3 separate regions of the Homo sapiens genome follow, and regions 1 and 2 are each linked to region 3. Evidence: promoter capture Hi-C in 16 types of primary human blood cells and fetal thymus (Javierre and others, 2016). All regions are on one chromosome and are shown on one strand. Each heading gives the region's core, a stretch centred on a gene start or on the middle of the fragment in contact. The rest is flanking DNA. Distances are from core to core; before and after follow the strand shown.

What was found. Contacts are between HindIII fragments. The CHiCAGO score rates a contact against its expected background, and 5 or more counts as called.
Region 1: a contact is called between a fragment that was not itself captured here and the fragment with the promoter of IRX1 in region 3, in 1 of 17 cell types (fetal thymus). The highest score is 6.6, in fetal thymus.
Region 2: a fragment that was not itself captured here is called in contact with the fragment with the promoter of IRX1 in region 3 in 1 of 17 cell types (fetal thymus); the score reaches 5.9 in fetal thymus.

What each region holds. Positions count from the first base shown.
Region 1 is chr5:4,165,911-4,169,171 of GRCh38, forward strand. No RefSeq gene overlaps it. Among named protein-coding and RNA genes, the nearest start is that of LINC02063, 32 kb to the left of the region's middle. The HindIII fragment of the contact is 1,359 bases long and covers 1,135-2,493 here.
Region 2 is chr5:4,202,334-4,205,350 of GRCh38, forward strand. No RefSeq gene overlaps it. Among named protein-coding and RNA genes, the nearest start is that of LINC02063, 68 kb to the left of the region's middle. The HindIII fragment of the contact is 799 bases long and covers 1,141-1,939 here.
Region 3 is chr5:3,594,074-3,597,259 of GRCh38, forward strand. It overlaps IRX1 (iroquois homeobox 1), which reads left to right and starts at 1,759. Exons shown (of 4, transcript NM_024337.4): 1 at 1,759-2,308. The coding sequence starts at 2,033. RefSeq lists a silencer at 1,462-1,756. The HindIII fragment of the contact is 18,185 bases long and covers 1-3,186 here.

The DNA of each region.
Region 1 (3,261 bases), core at 564-3,063, 570 kb after region 3:
ATCTAGGTTCCCTAGATTCACAAATAAAAAAAAATTAGTGGCTAAAATGACTTCTGCAATAAAATAAATAGTTGTTTTTTATCTGTATGTTGTAATAACATAACATGCATTATATATTAAACCTGCCTGGCTACACTATCTCACAATCATCGCAAAATCCAAGTGCAGAAACAATCATAACTCTATGGGTAAAATAGAGATTAACAGAGTTTGAATTTACCTAGGGCATCATAAAGCATAATCTGGTGTAAGTTCTATCTCTTGGGGGCTCCATTATGAAAAGAATAGAATAATAAGAAAATGTGAGTTAATTTAAAGTGAAAAATATACTATATGCATGTAATAAAAATAATTAAATATTGTGGTTGACAAGCATTTCTTTACCTGCCCAGATTTTTTAAAGAAGAAAGAAAAAGAAAAGAAAGAAAAGAAGGAAGGAAGGATGGAAAGAAGGAAGGAAGGAAGGCAGGGAAGGAAGGAAGGAAGGAAAAAAGAAAGATTTATTCTAAGATGCAAGGATTGCTTAATATAATAATAAATAATTGCAATTTGTAAAATAAGTTATAACTGACGGAATGAAAGAGGAAATTATATGAACATCTCAATAGTTACAGAAATAGCATAAGCAATACACATTTATGTTAAGATAACAACAACAACACTCAATAATTTAGGAAATAAAGCAAACTTATGTTATCTGAAATAATATATCTATTAAAATACAGAGAAAGTTAACAAAAATTGGGGAACATTAACAGCATTTACTTTAAAATTAGAATAATTTATACTCAATATCACTACTTACACTCAAATTTGTATGAAAGGTCCTCACCAGTAAAATATGACAAAAACAAAAGAAAATATAAGAATGAAATACTCACTAGAATGTAGCAAACTTTTATTATTTTAAAATAATAACTGTTTATATTTTGAAATTTTTTTTAATATCCAGAAAAATTATGGGAAAGAACAGTAGACATTACTAAGATTGCTAGATGTAAGCTTAATATACAAAAGTCATCTAATTTTTGTGTCCCAGTGGCAAATGATTAGAAATTTTAACTAAAAGAAACACATCATTAAATAGTATCAAAGTCTTAAAATGCCCAAATAAGTATACAGAAGAAAACACAAAGCTTTGTTAAGAGATGTTCAACAATACAGAAATACATAGAGTTGTACTACATTTATCAATAATGAGAATTAATCTAGATGATTTTTAAAATGTACTTGAAAGAGTACATGACCATGAATATCTGAAGAAGACTCTGGAGTGAGGTTAGCTTACTAAACATTAAGCCGTTATCATTACAAAACTACAATGCTTAAAAGTGTGTGGTGCTAGTGCAGAGGTAGACATTATATCAAGGTAAGAAATTACTCTGATGCAGTTGCCACATCCTAGTACACTACCAGGCAAGCATTCGATTTTCCATGGAGCCATAGAGACTCACAAAACAAATAAGAATCACACAGTTTTTGAAGAACTCACAAATATTGAGCAATACATAAGAGGGTATATATTGGAAATTTAAGCACCTAGAGTGGTTTGCAAGCAGAAGGCAGAATGGGAGGACCACATGTGAAAATCTAGATGCACTGTTACACAAGATCTCCTTCGGTTCCTGACATTAGTCTTTCCCAGTGCCAGTGTAACAGTGTGGTTATAAGAACCAGGCTGAAGATGAGAAAGGATTCTCAGCATAGGCAAGCAGCCTCGAATCGTAGACACTTGCTTCATGAGAAAATGCAGAAGCAAGTGTATTGGACACAGCTGCAACTCACTTTTTCCTGCTGAGTAGCAATATTTGTATCTGGGCAGAAGATGCACAGAGTCCAAACAGGTGTCACCAAAGAATGTGCAATATAGCTGTAATTCTGTAGGTGACAGACCCATGTTTTATAGTTACTAATTTTAACTGGGTTGTTTTAATCCTTTATTTTTATTAGCATTACTTTTAATATCCCCATCCTTTTTCAAACTTATTTCCAACACACGTTTATAGTCTATCTAAGTAAAACTCTATCACACAGGTAACTACTTACAACCCATCTATATTTGCTAGTTATTCCTATTGGTGTATGTATTTATTTCTCTTGTTTGTATGGCATAGTGAGACATTCTCAACAAACACAACAAGCACAAATTTCTCGATACAATAAAATAAAGATTTCCGAAACAGAACCGTACAAGCATAGAACTTTGATGTATGACACAGATGGCTTGACAGATGAGTGGAAAAAAGAGACAAATATTCAATAAATAAAGCTGAAAAAATAATTTTCTATAAAGCATGCATATATAATGTATATTTTAATACCTACATCATACCATATACAAAAATTATCTCCAAACAGGTTAATAAGTTAAGTAACAAAAATAGAAACTAAAACTCAGTAGAAAATAAATGTTAATATATTTTCGAACTTGGTGCCACAAAATATTTCTTGAATAATACACAAAAATATTAACTATGAAAGAAAACGTTAGTAAGCTTGACCATATTTAAATTTTAAAACTTTTGTCTATCAAAAGATGCCTTAAGTACAGTGTAAAAAATTACAAACTTTAAGAAGTTATTCACAATATATGCAACCAGTAGATTTTGGAATTAAGAATATATAACGAAAGCCTACAAATTCAGAAGAAAAACACAAACAATCCAATCTAAAAGGCACAAAATATATAAACAGACATTTCACAGAAGCAGAAAGTAAATGGACACTAAGCACTTCAAAGAAAGTTTAACATTATTAGTGACAGAAAAGTATAAACCAAGACTTTGATGAAACACCATCTTAAACATATTATTGATAAAAATTAAAAAGCCTCCAAGAAGTCTTTTGGAAGCCTCCAAGAAGATGTAGATGAAGAGAAGCTCTTGAATGTAAGATGCCAATATTTGTGGCAATGAGGGCTACTTTTTGGAAAGGAGTTTGGCGTAGTTTCTTCAGGTTGAATGGTCACATGCCCCCTTCCTTAGGAGTATATCCAAGGAACACTTCCTAAGGGAGGAGTGTGCAGTAATGTTCGTGCCAACACTTTTTCAGTGGCAGAAACCTACAGCCCGCCTTGAATGCCCATCAACTTGAGAGTGGACAAGTAAACTGGGGTATATTCACCTAATGAAATATGCGACAGCAGACAAACCAATGAACACAGTGGCACAACAAGGTGGGTAAATCTAAAGCCCAACACATTCTTTGACAGTTCATTTTATGTGCCTAATTAACAAGGTTATGGTGCCTAAATCATTTGGT
Region 2 (3,017 bases), core at 290-2,789, 610 kb after region 3:
ATTGAGACCATCCCGGCTAACACGGTGAAATCCCATCTCTACTAAAAAATACAAAAAAATAAGCCGGGCGTGATGGCGGGCGCCTGTAGTCCCAGCTTCTCGGGAGGCTGAGGCAGGAGAATGGAGTGAACCCGGGAGGCGGAGCTTGCAGTGAGCCGAGATCGCGCCACTGCACTCCGGCCTGGGCGACAGAGCAAGACCCCATATCAAAAAAAAAAACAAAAAAATTCCTGGATTTCCTGTGAGAACAAACCCCACCCTAATTGGTGAGGAGGCCAGGCTTTGAGTGCCCTGAAGCTTACACATTGTGGGCTGGTATATGTAAAGATAAACAGGACAACAATAATTGCATTTCCTAACTTCATAAAAGTCTATGCTAAAGTAGACATTTCTGAGTCACCTTTCCAGTGCCTGGAAAGGAGTTGTGCAAGTGGAAGTTGCAGAAGCCCCTTCGCTTCCTGGCAAGTCTTTCTTGGTGGAAACCTTTGCATTTCATAGCTCCAGGGCAGGGCCTTTGGGAGCTCTCGGTTGGTCCAGCCTGTCCCTCAACGGCATCGCAAGTCCTATGGGGACTTTGGAGCATCCCTGCGTGGCAGTGCAAACTGAATCGTATGGACATCAAAGTCCTGAGCAAGTGTGGAGTGTCTTTTATGTCCAGAAGGGAGCTAAGGCATGAGACACCTAAAAACCCCCTGCACTGTGCCCTGAGGGAGTTTCCAGTCTGGGTGGGGGTGGTGAGAGGCCACTGGGATCTTTGGAATAGACATACAGAACACAAAGATTGCACTACACAAAGTTGTTCTGGAGGCTCAGGACATTGGAAAACTTGCCCAGAAGCAAGCGCGGGGCCCCAGCCACATTCCAGCCCCACCTGATCTCATGTCAGATGTCCACCTGGAGCTTCTCCATCCAGCAGAAGGTGGTGAAATCAGATTTGCACAGGGCACCCTATAAAGGCCAAAATGAAGAGGGCAGATGGAAGGAAGATAGACCAGAGGCAGACTCACAGGGTGCCCAGCTGTCCCTGTCTGCTTGGGAATCTCCTAATGACAGTCGTCTTCAATGTCTTCCTGTAAACAGCACTCAGTCCTGTGAAAATGTGGATGGGTGGTCACTTTAAGGGAGAGGCAACAGAACTGAAGCTTCAACCTGAAGCAGCGGCCACATGGGTAAAGTGAAAAGGGGACAATCAAAGAGGCATTGAAGAAATGACTCCCAGAGCACAGCCAGCCTGGATGAGAGGTAAAGGACGTGGGAGGTGGGATGGTCTTCCTCTGATGTTCAGCCTTGACAGTGACTTTCAGGTACATTACATCATTGACGCCTTGCTCCCATTGTAAATTCTTCAACATTGTGATGTTATGTTTTTCTTTTTTAAGTAATATTTGATTTTTAGGTTGTTTTTATCCACTGGAAATAATAAGTTATATTTGAAATGTTTGGGAAGAGACCTTGCAGAGGAGGGGACTATAAGAAGTTTTATTTTGCTAGCTGTTTAAATAGAACTCTTTCTTTCTTATTCCATCAGTGAGCATGTTCAGTAAGTTTTCTTTCAAATATCCTCAATCAAGTTGAACCTTGAAAAATGTGCATTTTAAGTTTAAATTTTATCTTCCAAGTGATGGAGATTGTCATCCACAGAACATTTTTTTGAAAATATAAAAAATTCTTATTAGGTCCCATGTATTTATTTTCCCTCAATCATTTATTATATTCATACATTCCATTGCTTGTTCAGGCCATATCTGACCTCCTTATAAAACTATAAAGTTATTAAAATAAAAAGTGAATATATGAGATATCTAAATTGCCATTAGCTACTAAGATATCTCTTAGCATGCAGATTAGTAACAGATATTTGATTTTGGATTTTATAACCATGAATTATTCCTAAAGTATTCCATTTTCCCTACATCCAAATAAGTTGAGTCAACATCTAAGCTTCTTGTTTTTGTCTTTCTTTAATAGGCCTATAAAACAGGCATGACTGTCCTGGATGAATAAATCAAGCCGTTTGCCATCACTGCTGCTTTCCCCATGCACTGCCGACCAACAATATTCCCTACCATGTGCACCCCATTCACAGCCCTCTGAGCACTTGTCTAGCTGTGCTAATCCCAGTACACCATGCTGGACACGTGCAGATGTGGGAGGGTTGGCAAGCTTGCGAAGGAAAATCACAGTCCAGGATACGCTGAACAAGTTTACCTTTGTTCTTAGTACAGACACCTGTCCACCATTTTACAATTTCCATGTTTCTCACGATGTTTCTTCAGACTGAGGGAGATCTGGTCTCTTGTTCTTTTGCCCATTTGTTTTGCTGTGTTCCAAGTAAGAAAACACGGCGTTATTGGCACAGACACTAAACACAAGGCTTCACTTACAAGTTCCAACACCACCCCCCTCCTTGTTTTAATTCCTGCTGTTGACTCCACGTTCCCCTGCATCATGCAGGTGGCCTGCACTCCTTTCAGTCGTTACCAGCAATGCTTTTGTTTCTGTCCTCATGGCTGCATGGGACACAAGTTCAGGGGAGAATGATGTGTGAGTGGAAAGCATCTTCAGCCAAGGCCAGAAGTGCCCTCATGATCCTATACCCTTTTATTACACAGCAGGTGATTGGATCTGTTCCAGGCTGATTTTCACCAAGTGCTAGTTCAACTGCTCTGAGACCACAGTGGGTTTCATAAGGTTTTCAGCTTCAATCTCTTTCCAAATAGGTAGTGAGATAGAAAACCTATTTTTAAGAAATATTTCAAGGCTAAAGCTGCAGAATAAAAGCCCTGTCTTCCTCTCATCACCGTAGGCACAGTTGTGATTTTATTATTCTATATTGAGAACAACTAAATTCACTCCCACCTCAAAAAAAAAAAAAAAAAAAGAAAAAAAAAAGCAGTGCCCTACATAGCATGTAGTGGTTGCTTCTCTTATAAATCTTTATCCAGCCAGCTGTTCACAGCGTTCCTACATTCGAAACAGCATTTTAATAAAAATGGAAGAAAACAATTACAGCATGA
Region 3 (3,186 bases), core at 509-3,008:
ACAAACCCAGCCCGGAATCTATGTAAAAGCAGGAAAGGAACCCTGGAGGTTGTAGGCGGATCCTGGAGTGTGGAGGGGCGAATTGAGCGCGGGAAGCAGCATGACTAGCAAGACAATCTGACTCAGAGCAGGGAAAAATCAAGCCCGATGTCGGAGCTGGTTATTAGTAATTACTACCATCACGGGCATTATTGTTGCTAATTATAGGCGATGTCTCAGTGTCTGTCCTCAGGCCCGGAAAACCGGAGCCCCTCCTGATGCTGCTGAAGTCCCTGGGCCTCGAGGCTCCGTGAAGAGAGGGAAGCGAGGCAGGGGGTGAAGGGACCGCCTGGCCGGTGTCCAGGATACGGGTGGCTCAAACCACCAGCAGAACAGCATGCCGACTCTGGCCCGATGGCCGCCTTCATCCCGTAGCCCCAACCCGGCCTAAAGCCGAGAAGACGCCAGAGTGCGCTGCTGAAATTCCCGCGGAGTCCGGTGTGCTGGAGAGCCGCAGCGGGGTGAACTCCCGGCCCCGTCTCTGCGTAGGAGGTGGTTCGCAAAGTGGCCCCGGGAGCCGGGACTGGTACCCGGTTCCCCACGGCACCGTCCGGAGCTCTCCAGCCACGAGGCGCAGAAGTGGCCTGCCAGCGCCTTCCCAGGCTCAGGGAGGCGAGGAGGCCCGTGCACTTGGCATCTTCTCCCGGGAGCCGCACGGCCAGGGCCGCGGCGAAACGGAGCCCATCTCAAGTGCGCCGCGCCTGGCCGCGTCCTGTAGCCCGACGAGGCTGAGGATGGAGAGGGGAGACGCAGGGAGAAGAGGGACGCGGGACTTGGACCCAAGAGGCCGCTCCGTTGCCGGTCTGGCGGCGGCGCCGACTCGGGTTCGCGCGTTCCACACAAGTTTCCTGTCTGCCTCTGCACACCTGGTGGACAAACCGGGCGTCCAGGCCACACCGTCTTCCCCCTTCGCGGGGGCGCGGGGGATGTTTCCCTCCGGCTGCCAGGGGGCTTTCTGGGTGAAGAGAAAGCCCCTCCCCCCGCGTCTCCCCCACCCCTCCCTCCGAGAACCCGCGGCGCCGACTGCGCCTGCTTCCCCCGAGCTGGCGACTTCTCCGCGGGATTTGCCCTCGCTCAAAGTTTGCACAATTGAAAGAGCCCGCAGAGCTCGGCCGCTCCCCGCTTCCCCAAGGGCGGCGAGGCCGGTCATTGGCAGACGATCGGTTACTACCCAGTAGGGGCCCACGGGAACCCGCATCTGGAGTCGGGGGTGTCACGCCACGCCGGTTCAGTGGCTCGCGGAGAGCGTCCGGGTGCACTTCTGCCAAAGATGTCCCCTGGAGGCCCCGGCCGCGCGGGACTCGGGGGAGAGGCCGCTCCCCCCTCGCTGTCACCAGCGTCCAGGCCGCCGGCCCCTTCCCCGCTGCCCAAACAGTAGAAAAGCAGGCGCCAAGTTGTTTTTGTTAAAAAGGGGACACACCTCGGCCGCGAAACTGCAAACCCGGTGTCAGACAGCTGTAAACCCGTGTCGACAGGTTGTCAGACAGCTGCGGGGGCTGGTCGGGAAGGAGCCCACGGCCTCCGGGCCCACACCCCGCCGCCCCGACGCGCGCGCCCACCGCGAGAGTAGCTGGCCGGGCCGGCACGGGGCACCACGTGCTCGCGGGAGGGGCGGGAGCGGCCGGCGAGGGCGGGCGGGAGGCAGGGAGGGGGCGGGAGGGGAGCCAGGGGCGGGGCCTGCGCTCAAGGGGATGCCAATCAAAGCATCAACTTCAAATTGTGTCTGAAAGCCCCGCCGCCGAGCGGAGGGCGGCCGCCGCAGTCGGCGCGCGATTGCGGATCCGGGCGCAGCCGGGAGCCGGGCGCCTGCGAGCACCGGGCAGAGGAGCCGCGACCGGCCTCCATCTCCCGGCCCGCCCGAGCGCGCCCGGCCGGCCGCCCGCTCCTCCCTAGACCCCTCGCGGCGCCCCCTGCAACCCCCTCCGGCCGGCCTCCGCCTCCCTCCCCGCGCCTTTAATACTCGCCCGCTGCGGCGGTCGCCGAGTCCGCGGACATGTCCTTCCCGCAGCTGGGCTACCCGCAGTACCTGAGCGCCGCGGGGCCGGGCGCCTACGGCGGCGAGCGCCCGGGGGTGCTGGCCGCGGCCGCTGCGGCGGCTGCCGCCGCCTCGTCGGGCCGACCGGGGGCCGCGGAGCTGGGCGGCGGGGCAGGCGCGGCTGCAGTCACCTCGGTGCTGGGCATGTACGCGGCGGCGGGGCCGTACGCGGGCGCGCCCAACTACAGCGCCTTCCTGCCCTACGCCGCGGATCTCAGCCTCTTCTCGCAGATGGTGAGTGCGCCCGGCCTCCCCCGCTTCTCCTCTGTCTCACCCGCGCCAGGGCAAGGGTGGCGGGTCGCCCGGGAGGGAGAGACTACGGGTGGACCTGGTCCGGAAGAGGAACTAGAAAGGTCCGGGGGCAGGTTCCCGGTGGCCGAGGCCGCGGCCCCCGGGGACGCAAGAGGGCTGGGAGGCCGGGCGGGTGACGGCTGGGCCATCTCGGCCTGGGAAAGCGGAAGGCCCGGGCCAGGGAGCGGGTAGCGAGTGAATTCAGAGAGGCCGCAGAAGCAGGCCCGTGGAGCGGTGCCCGCGCTGGAGGTCGGGGGCAAACTCGCCTGGCTCGGCCAGGGCGCCCGGGCAGGCCCACGGGGTTCCTGCAGGTCGGCCCGGCGTAGCGTAGCAGGACTTCCCTTCCTGGCCGCGGGTTCCACTCGCGCGGCCTCTTTAGTTTTCGAACCGAGTCTGGAAAACTTGGTTTTCTCCCTCTTTAGCAGCTCCGAGATAGTTGTATCCGAGTTTGCCAGACAGACCCCTTCTAAGCCTGGTAGAGTCAATCAAAATAATCTTAACAATAGAGGTCCAAAGGGATGGAGAGGTCTCTCCACGGCGTGAGTGCGAATTTGAGATTAAACAAAAATTAAGTTGCAGTAATGTGCTGGTGTCTGAAACGGTGTTTGATTTTACTTTTGTAAGTTGCCCAAGTTTTCATTTCATTTGCACAGAAAGAAAAGCACTTTTCTTCCTGCGTTACATAATGGAGGATTAAAGAAAACAGTGTCCCTTGGCTTAAAACAAATGGTGTCCTCTTAGTCTCCCGTCCCAGTGGGCGTTAGATGTCGGGGCAGGCGGCTGCACACTTAATTCTCCGCGGGGGCATTGGCCTGTCTGCC